Linked DNA regions of Homo sapiens: all the other regions are linked to region 2. The links are contacts of gene promoters, found by promoter capture Hi-C in blood cells and fetal thymus (Javierre and others, 2016). All regions are on one chromosome and are shown on one strand. The core of a region is centred on a gene start or on the middle of the fragment in contact, and the rest is flanking DNA. Distances in the headings are between cores, read along the strand shown. Region 1 has its middle 130 kb from the start of MIR4771-2. Region 2 holds the start of ACOXL (acyl-CoA oxidase like). Region 3 has its middle 51 kb from the start of MIR4771-2. Region 4 has its middle 84 kb from the start of MIR4771-2.

Region 1 (3,089 bases), core at 494-2,993, 910 kb before region 2:
ATAATGGAGGTGACGACAGCAATAGTTACCTAACAGGACTGTAGTGAAGATTGAACAAGACCAGGCATGTAAAGCTTTCAGCAAAGGCCTGATGCAATGCATGCATTATGACCATAGGTATTACTTTCTATTGTTGCAGTAACAAATCATCACAAACTCTGTGACATAAAACAACACAGATCTACCATCTTACCATTCTGGAGGTCAGAAGTACAACATGGATCTCACTATGTGAAAATCAAGGTGTTGACAGACCTATGTTTCTTTCTGGAGACTCTAGGGGAGAATCTCTTTCCTTGTTTATCTGGGTTATTTGCAGAACTCAGTTCCGTGTGGTTGTAGGACTGAATTCTCCATTTTCTTGCTCGCTGTAGACTGAGGGCCATTCCCAGCTTCTGGAGGCCATCACATTTCTTGGCTTGTGGCTTCCTTCCCCCATCTTCAAAGCCAACAATGGTGGGTTGAGCCCTTCTCATTACATCTCTGACCAACTCTTCTGCTGCTCTATCTTTTTTTTATTTTTTATTTTTATTGTAGAGGTGGGGTCTTACTATGGGGTTGCCTAGGCTGGCCTTGAACTCCTGGCCTCAAGGAATTCTTCTGCCTTGGCCTCCCTTGGCCCTGGGATTACAGGCAGGAGCCACCATGCCTGATCCCTCTTTTGTTTTTAATAGCTCAGGTGATTCAGTTGGGCCCACTAGGTAATCCAGAGTAATCACTCTGTCAGCTGATTAACAACCTTAATTCCTTCTGCAACCTTATTCCTTTTTGTCACATAACCAGTAACCTATTATTCTGGAACCCGTAATATCTTTATACTCAGGTTCTAGGAATTATTAGGCAGATATCTTTGTAGGGCAGCTATTCTTCCTACCATACCATCACAATCATCATCCTCATTCAGAATGCATTGGCCTTGGGGTTGAGAGCTCCCTCATCTCGAGGAAAGACTTGCCCCAAAGGCGAAGAGGAAGAGAGGGGAGAGGCTGACTGAAGTTCTCTTCCTTCAGCACTAGCCGAGAGGGAGTTTCTGGATGTTTAGGTGGTGAGATGTGGAGAGATGTGGATCCTCGAGGTGGCTGAAATTATGCTAATCTGTGCCCTCAGACTGACTGGCTCTGACAGCATGGCCCTGCATCTCAGCTCTGAGCCAGCCTGTGGAAGGAAGGGAGAATGGATGCCTCAGCTGGCATCTGTGTGAAAGTGGCTCAGTGGCAACACACATGTGTCCATGTACACACACACACACACACACACACACACACACCCCTGCGGGCTTGACTAGAAAACATGGCATCTGAAAGAGTTCAAAGAACTTAGATTGAGTACAGAAGATTGACAACTTTTAAAAAATCTACAAATCATGCTTCTTTCAGTGTGATACCAATATTGCACCCCTACTATGTGTCAGGCCCAGGGTCAGGTGCTGTATGTGCATTAGCTCTCTTAGGATTACCCAAAGCTCTGCGAGGATTTTCCCTTTTACCAATGACAGAACTAAGGTGCAGAAAGGTGGAGGGCGAAGGCTGCTGCTCAAGGCCCTCAACTGGTAAGTGGTAGAGCCAGGCAGAGCCTTCAGTGAACACAAGGAATAGACGGCCTTACGACAACACAGAGGACTTAGGTTAGACATGAGACTAACTTGGGAAAAACAAAGCTTACTGCAAGGCTTTGCAATGAATTACTAGAAGGCTGTGGAATCTTCTGAATGCCATGGGAAATAGGATGGTTTCTTAATAGCCAGAAGGTGGAAGCAACACAAGTGTCCATAGATGGATAAATGGATAAACAATGTGGTATGTCCATAAAATGGAAAACAATTAAGCTTTAAAAAGAAAAGACACTTTGACATATGCAACAGCATGGATGAACCTTGAGGATATTATGCTGAGTGAGATAAGCCAGTCACAAAAAGACAGATACTATATGCTTCCACTTATTTGTGGTATCTAGAGTTGTCAAATTCATAGAGACAGAAAGTAGAATGGTGGTTGCCAGGGGCAGGCAGGGAGAGGGGAGTAGGGAGCCAATGTTTAATGGGTATGGAGTTTCAAATGGGATGATGAAACCCATCATAGATGGTGGTGATTGTTACACAATAATGTGAATGTACTTCATGCCACTGAACAGTACACTTAAAAATAGCTCAGATGGTGAACTACTGGGTTACATGTATTTTATCACAATTAAAACAATAGGATGGTTAAATGTGGTAATTCATGAAGGTGAGTGCTCGTCTCTAAGGCAGGCTGTCATGCCCTCGGGTGCCACGTGACTTGCTGTGAATACCAATATAACTATCATGTCATCCCCCGTCCTGGTCCATATCCCCTGATGTTCTCTTGATTGTTAGCTGGTAATTCTGCCCCTTAGCTTAGCTTTTAATGCATCACATGGTTGAGAGCTCTCCACCAGGGCTCTGCTGGCTTGGGCCCCCAGGGGTGGTGTTTTTGTGGGTAAGCCTGGGTTTGTAGTTTCTAAGACATTGACTAGGTTTTATGTTGCATGCCTGGGAAGAAGACCTGGGTGCTTTTTGCCAGAAAAAAGCCTTGTGCCTGATTGACATGTGGGTGAGTTTTGAAGAGTATACCTAAGATTGGCTTCGGAATGTGTGATCCAAAAAGGAAAACAATGTGTGATCTTGTTTTTGGTGCAGATGGAAACATAAAAGAATTTGTGCTTCTCTCAAAGTTCCAGAAATTTTGAGGCACAACTTCTGGTAAATCATAGAGGACCTTTAAGTCAAGATTCAGATTTTGGTGGTAGATATCTTTGGATAATGCCTCCTTTTAACCCACTGAAGTTCTTTTCCTTCATCACTGTTTTGCAATTCTCCTAAAAGAGTTCAAGTCCAAGACTTTGTGATTGCCTCTTCCTTCTTTCTTCCCCACAGCCAGTTGGAGGTGGTAGCCCTTAGTGCAGGGACTAGCAAGGTTGGGTATCCTCTTAGCTACTTTGTGCGGGTTTCTCTTTGTGTAAATTGCCTATCCACATCCTCCTATTTTAAAAAGAGGATTATTACTGTTTTCTTATGAAATTGCCTATAAATTTTGGACACTAATTCTTTATTGACAATGTGTGTTGCAAAT
Region 2 (3,059 bases), core at 195-2,694:
TATATTTTTTCTGCTGGAATACTACACATCATGTGGTCTCTGGAAACTGCCACTGTACATTAGTGAGAGAATGAGAGTGAAAAAGCTAATAACTTTTTTTGTATTACTATAAAAACAGTTTGTACTCATGAACCGCCTGAAATGCTCTTGGGTCCCCCCAGGGCTCCCTGTACCACACTTTGAGAACCATAACTTAAAGAACTATGTATGAGAGAGAGGGAAAGAGAAGTCGGCGAGACACTGATGGATATACCCACCATCCCACACTTCTCACTTTTCAACTTTCAAACGCCCCCAACTCCCCACTAGGTAACCTCAGTGCAGGAACCCCAGATTCTCCAAGGACAGCCTGACGTTCACTCAAGCCATCTCCTTCCCTCTCATTTCCGCAAAATAAATTAAACGAGGGCTAAGTGGGCATGGCTAACCAATTAATCCTCCACGGGCACATACTGACATTTTTAATAGGGCCTTTCTTAAGCTAGAACTCCAAAGCATGCCTCCAACTGGGCTTTTCAGACTGCTTGAAATGGGTATGAGAAAGAGAGCCCACAGGAGACACGAATGCCGAGTTCTGGTCCTGACTGTCCGGTGACTGAACCATCTCTCTATCTCCAGTGCAGCTCAAGCACTCAACCCTCTGCCTGCTTCTCAGGGCTGTCCTGGCATCGGATGACATCGAGGACCTGAGTTCTTCTTATAACCAAACCGCCCCGCTGAAGCTGCCCATTCCGCACACCTGCACTCCGAGGGGGTCCTGTAAGCCTGTCCCACCCCGACGCCCAGACACGCCCTGGACAGGGCCACTCCATCCCTGTGCGCCCATCCCATCGCGGTTTTCTGTCCCCTTCTCCCCACCAAGGGTGGGACATCGCGGGGCGGGGACTCAAGAAACAGGTTCAACAAACCAGCAAGGCCGATCTTCCAGCCACACGGTCTTCGTAGACACCGCGCCTGTCACCGCGGGGCCCAGCCCTGCACCCGACTCTTCGTGGGGGAGGGAGCTCGGGAGGAGAGGGCACCTCTCAGGGGGCCGAAGAGGTCGGCGGCGGCCGGCTGCGCCCACACACCTGGGGAGGGGAGCCCGTCACCTGCGGCGAGGCAGGGACCCGCCTCTCAGGCGCGGCGCACACCCCACCTCGCCCTCGCCAGGGCGTTGTCCGCAGCGACGCTCCGGGGACCGAGGGGACACGCTCGGCGGCTTCGGGGGCGCGGGCAGGGGCGACGGCCGCAGCGCGGTACCTTTGCCGGAAGAGCGGGCGCCGCCGAGGAGTCCGCGCAGCTCGTTCTTGAGGCTCCAGAAGTCGCCGTCCAGGTAGCGGTGCAGGGAGGAGTCCCCGAGCCCCAGACCCGGCGCCGGCTGCATCGCGCTCACCTGCCTCTGCTTCTCCGCGTGGCTGGCAGGGCCGGCTTCGCTCCGCGCCTCCTCCAGCTCCCAGCAGGTGAGGCCCCAGGCGCACGCCCTCTCCCTCTCCACCCCTCCCGGCCCGTCTCCTCCCTCCTCACCTTCCTCTCCCCTCCCTCCCCGGCCCCGCCCTGCCCTGGCTTCCCGGGCGGGAGGTCCGGCGCGAGCGGGCGCTTCTACGGTGGCCTCCCCTTGCCCTTCCGAGGAAGCGAAAACTCTACCCTCCAGTTATCAACTGTCCCTCAAGATTTGTGAGCCGTAAGAAACAAGTACTAGACCCCTAGAAAGGGTGCCAGTCACGTGGACCTGGGCACCAGAGGCCCGGCTGCTCAGGACTGACCGGCTGACCCACTCAGCAGATCTCCCGGCCAGCCACTTTGCCTGACCCCCACGACCCAAGATAGCCTGGCTCCAGCTCTGGCCCCTCCTCAGCTGTATCTCACCTCTTCCCCGCACTGGGCATTACTGTGAACTCTAATATCACGGTAATCTAAAGGCGTCCCAGGTCTACAGCACTGCAGTCCAGGGTAGCTGGAAGCTGCATTCATGACGAGGTGATCGACCGGAACACGATACTCATTTCCCAGGACACTCCTTTTTTTGTTGTGGCTGGAGGAAAATGAGTTATAACCTAAGTGGAAAATGTTCCTTCCTTTCTGCTCCCTAATTCTCATATACCTTGTTGATTCTCCTTTTAAATACTCAAGGAAATGTTAGCCGTTCCCTTCCAGAGGCTACTTTGCTGGGGAGATGATGGTGTGGTCTGCTGTCGTGAGGTTAGTGGATGCCATCTGTATTCGTTTCCAGTAACAAATTCCCACAAAGTGAGTGGCTTAAGATAGCACCAATTTATTCTCTTACATTTCTGGAAGTCAGAAGTCCAAAATAGGACTTACAGGGTTAAAATCAAGGTGTTGGCAGAGCTGGGTTCCTTCTCACAGCTCCAGGGAAAAATGCATTTCCTTGTCTTTACTAGCTCCTAGAGGCTGCCTGCATTTCTTAGCTCCTGGCCCCTTCGTCTGTCTTCAAAATGCATCACTTCAAGCTCTGCTTTCATCGTTCCATCTTCTACTGACTTTGACCTTCTTGCCTCCCTTGGACTTGTTTACATGGGACCCATGGGAATAATCCATGGTCAATGGGAATAATCTTCCCACCACAAGATCCATACTTTAATCACACCAGCAATGTCCATTTTGCCATATCAGAAACACACTCTCCGGTACTAGGGATTAAAACATGAGCACCTTTGGCGAGTCATTCCTCTGTCTACCACACCTGTGCAGCTGCGAGTAATAATACCCAGTCATCCATGATAAAAGGGGCTTTGTTTTCTCACATCACAGGAAGCTTGGTGGTAGGAAAGCCCCAGGGGTGAATTTGATGGCTCTACCCTGGGGACCCAGGTCCTTTGCATCTTTCTGCTCCACCATCCGCCATCCTTTCTCTATATGTAATCGTTACCTTTTTTTTTTTAACTTGTCTTCTACCAGTTGTAAGATGGATGCTGCAGCTCCAAGCACCACCCTGTGCAAAGCAGAAGAGGAGTATTTCCTTCTATATCAGCCAAAATAGTGTAGTGGTAACAAACAACCCCGAAACGACTTCACATACACTTCCTCAAATCTTAGGGCCTAAAAAGACAAGAGTTTAT
Region 3 (3,354 bases), core at 848-3,347, 990 kb before region 2:
TAACACCATTATTCTGAATGGAGAAATCTGTGGTTGCTTTAGTCATGGAGACTACATCACAACTAGGGTTTTCCTTTTTTTTTGAGATGTGTGTGATGGGGGAGAATAGGGGTACAGCATTCTAGAAATGGCCTCATTTTGCATTTCCTTAGGTCCCAAGTTAAAATAACTTTCTGTTCTAAGAAGCTTTAAAAGTGGTTCATGGACCAGGCACGGTGGCTCACGCCTGTAATCCCAGCACTTTGGGAGGCTGAGGTGGGCGTATCACCTGAGGTCCAGAGATTGAGACCATCCTGGCCAACATGGTGAAACCCCATCTCTACTAAAAATACAAAAAAATTTGCTGGGCATGGTGGCGTGTGCCTGTAGTCCCTGCTACTTGGGAGGCTGAGGCAGGAGAATTGTTTCAACCCAGGAGGCAGAGGTTGTAGTGAGCCAAGATCCTGCCACTTCACTCCAGCCTGGTGACAGAGCTAGACTCAGTCTCAAAATAAAGTGGTTCATTTCTTTCTAAAATCATTGATTGAACATTAAAAAACATTGGTAAGAAAAATTGAACCAAGAAGGTTTTGGGTTATACTGTAGGTCAGTGAGCTTTAAGTTTCTGTGTCTCTGAAGCTACATGGCTGGACGATAGCTGAAGTCAGTGCCCCGAGTGAAGCCTGAAGAGGAGCTGATGGATTTTTCTGGTGGGGAAGGCCTGTGACTGCACTCAGAGAGAGCTGGGCCAGGCGGGGTGAGGCACGGTCACTCTGAGTTCACAGACCCACTCTGATCCTTGAATGGGTCTGTCCTGAAATAATGGGGAATCCTGGAACATGCTGCTTTGTGTAGACGCCTTTCTCCTTTGCAACTTTTAAAGGTATTTGTCCCCTGGGTTTCATTTGAAATGCTTTTTTTTTCCTTCTTCTTTTTTTTTTTTGCCAGATGCTTTCACTAGGAGCAGTATCCAGAAAGCTATGTTTCTAACCTACCTTGTTGTTTGCCTCTTGGGCAAATGGGTTTGTTTACCTTATTGACTCAGTTCAGTGGAAAATATTACCCTGATTGGGATGGAGATGGGGCTGCTGTTCTGAAATAACTACGCAAGTTTACCTGTTCAGGTGGGACACAGCTTCTTGTGTTAGTCACGGATGAATTTTGAAAATTTATACATAGTGCAATAAATGCTGGTTTCTTTCCCCTTCCTCACTCCTTCCTGGGGCCTATATGTGTGTATCTCTAACACACATACACACACACGCAGGCACACACACACTCATACACATGCACACTCACACACAAGAGGATACGTTGCATATACAGCTCAATGCTACAAAGAAGCCCTTTTACCAGAAGAGCACACGGGAACTCCGCTGAAGTTTGACAGGGTGATTGTCTTGTGGCTACTCTACCTTGAGGCCAGAGCACAGTGAGGGCCTCCCTCCTGCCCCCAGCCACACCAAAGAGGGGGCAGGGGGTCACAGGGAGCAAAAGAGGAGCTTTTTGCCATCACCATGAGACGGTGACCACAGGAGCCTGGCTCGAAGGTGAGGGTGGGGCTGGTGACTGGTGCCTGTGGATTCCAGAGTGGTTGGCCTACACAGCCTACTGAGAGGTAGAGCATGGTCCTTTGCGTCCCTGTGGACTCCGAGTGCCTGCCATGGTTTGGAAGGTCCACTGAAGGCTGAGTGCTCAGCGGCGTTGCCAGCCAGCTGGATGCATGTAAACAGCATTGTGAATGGAGAACATTCTTTCACCTTATTCTTGCACATTCTTCTCCCATACTTAGCTTCTTATCCTTCCTATCTACTCATCTAGCTAGCAATCCCTAAAATTAAATCATTTATAAATGAGTCCGATGAGGGTCTTTTTTTGAAAACTGGATTTAGTGAATAAGGCAGACCCCTGTTTTTGGATAGGGCTTTGCCTCTTGTTATTAAGGAGGAATAACTTGTTCCCAACTTGGTTGGTGACCCCAGCTGAGGAGGAACAAGTGGCAGATGAGTCCCAGGGAAGACCCCTAGGGGGAATGGCTGGAGGTAGCTGTACCAGGGATGAAAAGGGTGGGGGTGGTGATGAGGGGAACGCAGCCCTTCATGCAAAGAAGTGGGTGTTTGAAATCAGTGGGTGACTATTTTTTTGGCAATGTGGGCTCCTTAGGTCATATACAGTGGCCTTAGAAAGCCAGCCCTGCCTCTCTTCCCTCAACTGATGGTGGATTTGTGTAATGAGATCACCGTCTTCTTGAAAAACACTTCCAGGGTAGCTCATTACAAAGCCTCGCACAGTGTTCGGAGCAGGGCGAGCTGCAAGGCCCCGGGCTTTCCATTCTGAAAGAGCTGTGGGTGTCGGGGTGGCTGCCAGCTGTGAGAGCTCTGTGGGTGGGGACTCTGTCCCTCAAAGCCACGCACTCAGGCTTGCCCATTCTAGTGTCTCCGTGGGAGACACAAAGCTGAGGTTTCTCTAGGAATGGGGAGCTCCAGCTGGAAGGATATGGAATTTGAATGCAGCATCTGCCTTTAGCTCAGCCCCGAAGAGAGTCAGACAGAATCTGGTGAGAAGGAGGCCACTGAGTGATCTGATGTCCCCTCATCTGGCCTGGACCTTTTTTTAAGTGAAACTCAGCCCAGCCCTCAGGTGCGTCCCCCGGCATCCCAATCACCTGCGAACTGTGATTCCCTCTCAGGGCTTCGGTAAGTGATTCAGTGGAGGCAGCCAGCAATTAAAAGAAGCAATTAAAGATCTTTTATTAAAAGATCTTTATGACAGGCTGGGCAAGGTGGCCTGGGCCTGTAATCCCAGAGCTTTGGGAGGCTGAGGAGGGAGGATCACTTGAGCTCAGGAATTTGAGACCAGCCTGAGCAACATAGTGAGCCCCTCCCTGTCTTTACAAAAAATGAAAAAAATTAGCCAGACATGGCTAAAAAACAATCTTTACGACAAATTGTTAAATAAAGAATGTAAGTGATGGAATGATATATGTAGCAGATTTTTATCTGTATGTATGCAAATATATAAAGTTCTGTAAGATTGCACACTAAACCATTGGCACAGATGGAGAGTAAAGAACTTTAATTTTTTACTCTATAGGCTTTCCCCCCCACAACATTTCAGATATTCTTTTTTTATTTTTTGAGACAGGGGCTTGCTCTGCTGCCCAAGCTGGACTGCAGTGGCACCAACATAACTCACTGCAGCCTTCACCTCCCAGGCTCAAGCAATCCTCCCACCTCAGCCTCCCAAGTAGCTGGGACTACAGTGCAGTGGTCACCATATCTGGCTAATATTTTATTGTTTGTAGAGACAGGGTCTCACTATTTGTCCAGGCTGGTCTCAAACTCCTGGCCTCAAGCGATCCTCCTGCCTCAGTCT
Region 4 (3,158 bases), core at 615-3,114, 950 kb before region 2:
AAGGGACTAGAAAGCAGGCTGCCCAGCCTCAAAGTCTGCAGCAGAGCTGGTGTTCTGACAGATGACAAACCGAGCAGCCAGGCTCTGGGACTTCTTGGCCCAGGGAAGCCCCTCACCAGCGTGACAGGTCTGGGTTCTGTTAGGGAAGCCCCATCTTCTTGCAGGATGATGGAATAGGAAACCTGCGGGCCAACACAGGCCCCGCAGCTCCGCGGGTGCTGGGGCGAGCCTGGGGAGTTGGAGATCGGTCTGTGCTCACCCCAAGAACTGAGTCCACACACACCCCTGCCCCCTCGTTATCCATCAGAAAATCTGCTGTTAGAGAGAGGGCTCCAGGGCACCTCAGATCATGTCCTGCCGTCTCAGAATGCTTTGAGAACGTGGGAGGCCAAAAGGGGGGTTTTGGAGGCCTTGAGACCATCCTCACATTCTCCATCAATTATAAGCAGTGCTCACTGGACAGTCTCCACTTCCTAGTGTGGCAGCTGGCACCTCCTGCTCCTCATGGCTGGGTGGAGAGTGTGACCAGTCCTGGCCAATTCGCTGTGAGCTGAAGTGATACTGTTAAGTGCTGATCTGAGACCCTTGAGAGTGTTCCTCTATCAATCAGTGTACCTGAGTGACCCCAGTGAGCACCAGAAGTTGGGGCTGCAGTTGAAAACCAAGGCCCTCCTAGCCCTGGGCAGTGATGACCATCTGGCAGAGAAAGCCAAACCAAGAGAATTAGGTATCCAAGGAAAATATCAGTCAGAGAGCTTCAGCACTGTGCCAAAACTATCACATGGCTGGAAAGCGGTGAGAAAGGATTTGAACCCAGGGCTGCTTCCAGAGTGCAGGCATCCTGCCTCCCAATAATGGACTTGTGGTTCCTGATGCAGACAGCTGTGGAGTAATGATGAGAGGCCCAAGGGGCCAGTGACAGAGGCTGCTTCCCAGAGTGCCCGTTTCTCTGGACACATGGTGGGTCCCAGAATTAATTGGGGCAGAAGATGTGCTGGAAAGAGGAGCTGAACACCAGCCTCAGATGACTTGGAAAGCTGTTAGAAGTTATTCAGTGAGCAGGTGGCCTCGTCATACTCTCCTTTCTCTCTCTGCCCTGCTCTGGGCACTGATTCCATGCCAGCTGCTTCACCTATGACCCTGTGAGGGCAGTGCTTATTACGCCGGGTCACAGAGAAGGTCCCTAACCAGCCCACTGGGTCAGCTCTGCACTTGCCTCACCTCAGTCACCAGCTTCAGGCCTGCAACACAGGACATGGGAATGATTTTAGGGAAATATTGCCTAAGTTAAGAGAGTCCTCTAGCTTGGCTAGATGTCTTAGTTTAGGCCACAGAAATACTACAGACTGGGTAATTTATAGGTAATAGAAGTTTATTTCTCACAGTCCTGGAGACTGAGAAGTCCAAGATCAAGGTGTCAGCAGGTTCAGTGTCTGGTGAAAGCCTATTCCTTATAGATGGCAGCATCTTGGTGTCCTTACAGGGTAGAGGGGCAAAATGGGGGCGGCAGCTCTCTGAGGCCTCTTTTAGAAGGGCATAATCCCATCCATTAGAGTGGAGCCCTCGTGGCCTAATCATCTCCCAAGGACCCCACTTCTTAATACCATTACCTTGGGGGTTAGGTTCCAACATATGAATTTTGAAGGTACGCATGCATTTAAACCATAACACTAGATATAGGATAGACCTAATCCATTACCAAGGCTTGGCCTGGGCAGGGATGAATGTGAGTTGTGTGGAGGAGGGGGTGACATGCTGTTTAATCTTCACCACGTCTTCAGTGCATTTTCCAGAGAAAAATGACTTATTTCTGGTCCTCGGGCATGTGGTTGACACCAATGCTCCTCAAACCTGAAAGTGCACAGGCATGCATGTTTATAGCGGCACAATTCATAATTGCAAAAACGTGGAACCAACCCAAGTGCCCATCGATCAATGGGTGGATAGAGAAACTGTGGTATATGTATGCAATGGAATACTACTCAGCCATAAAATGAATGAATGAATGGCATTTGCAACAACCTGGATGACGTTGGAGACTATTATTCTAAGCAAAGTAACTCAGGAATGGAAAACCAAACATCATATGTTCTCACTCATAAGTGGGAGCTAAGCTACGAGGATGCAAAGGCCCAAGAATGACACAATGGACTTTAGGGACTCGGGGAAAGAATGGGAAGGGAGTGAGGGATAAAAGACTACAAATTGGGCCGGGCACAGTGGCTCACGCCTGTAATCCCAGCACCTTGGGAGGCCGAGGCAGGCGGATCACAAGGTCAGGAGATCGAGACCATCCTGGCTAATGCGGTGAAACCCCGTCTCTTCTAAAAATACAAAAAATTAGCTGGGCATGGTGGCAGGTGCCTGTAGTCCCAGCTACTCGGGAGGCTGAGGCAGGAGAGTGGCGTGAACCCGGGAGGCGGAGCTTGCAGTGAGCTGAGATCGCACCACTGCACTCCAGCCTGGGCGACAGAGCGAGACTCCGTCTCAAAAAAAAAAAAAAGGCTACAAATTGGGTGCGGCGTATACTGCTTGGGTGATGGGTGCACTAAAATCTCAAATCACTATTGAACTTACTCATGTAACCAAACACCACCTGTTCCCCAATAACCTATAATAAAAAATTAAGAAAAAAACCCCCAAAAAACCCTTGAAAGTGCATATGAATGATCAGGAATCTTGTTGACAGGCAGATTCTGGAAGAGCAGGTCTGGGATGGGGCCTGAATTCTCTGGAGGTGCCCTGCTGTTCTGATGATAGCAATAACTGATAAGATACTTTAAGACCAGGCCCTGTGCAAACAGGTTTCAGAGTAGGCTAGATCTTATTTGGTCTCTGAAATTTTGCCAATTTGGCCACAGAATAGATTGTCAGCTCCAAAATAAGTTTCATTTTCTAGCATATTGAAATAATTAGAAGAAAGGGAACCTTTCTTGCTCTTTTGGAATAAAGAAGACAATGAGGCCTGTGAACCAAGGCTAAACCACTGTGGTAGGTGGACTTCTAAGATGGTGCCGAAGATGCTTGTCCCCCTGGCTTACACACGGCTTCTCCCACCTGTTCAGTCAAACACGAATTGAGGTGCTGCCATGAAGGGATTTTGCAGATGTAGTTAAGGTCCCAAATAAGTTGACTGTAAAGAAAAGAGACTATCCTGG

What was found. Contacts are between HindIII fragments. The CHiCAGO score rates a contact against its expected background, and 5 or more counts as called.
Region 1: a fragment that was not itself captured here is called in contact with the fragment with the promoter of ACOXL in region 2 in 7 of 17 cell types (total B cells, total CD8 T cells, naive B cells and 4 more); the score reaches 9.9 in total B cells.
Region 3: a fragment that was not itself captured here is called in contact with the fragment with the promoter of ACOXL in region 2 in 4 of 17 cell types (neutrophils, erythroblasts, total B cells and 1 more); the score reaches 8.5 in neutrophils.
Region 4: a contact is called between a fragment that was not itself captured here and the fragment with the promoter of ACOXL in region 2, in 4 of 17 cell types (neutrophils, naive B cells, erythroblasts and 1 more). The highest score is 8.5, in neutrophils.

What each region holds. Positions count from the first base shown.
Region 1 is chr2:111,637,661-111,640,749 of GRCh38, reverse strand. No RefSeq gene overlaps it. Among named protein-coding and RNA genes, the nearest start is that of MIR4771-2, 130 kb to the left of the region's middle. The HindIII fragment of the contact is 168 bases long and covers 1,660-1,827 here.
Region 2 is chr2:110,730,958-110,734,016 of GRCh38, reverse strand. ACOXL (acyl-CoA oxidase like) reads right to left here and starts at 1,444. Exons shown (of 18, transcript NM_001142807.4): 1 at 1,243-1,444. LOC124906064 (a long non-coding RNA gene) reads left to right here and starts at 1,592. Exons shown (of 3, transcript XR_007087181.1): 1 at 1,592-1,663; 2 at 2,113-2,181; 3 at 2,382-2,656. The HindIII fragment of the contact is 3,688 bases long and covers 1-2,757 here.
Region 3 is chr2:111,718,792-111,722,145 of GRCh38, reverse strand. No RefSeq gene overlaps it. Among named protein-coding and RNA genes, the nearest start is that of MIR4771-2, 51 kb to the left of the region's middle. RefSeq lists an enhancer at 1,040-1,934. The HindIII fragment of the contact is 3,818 bases long and covers 189-3,354 here.
Region 4 is chr2:111,685,171-111,688,328 of GRCh38, reverse strand. No RefSeq gene overlaps it. Among named protein-coding and RNA genes, the nearest start is that of MIR4771-2, 84 kb to the left of the region's middle. The HindIII fragment of the contact is 5,700 bases long and covers 1-3,158 here.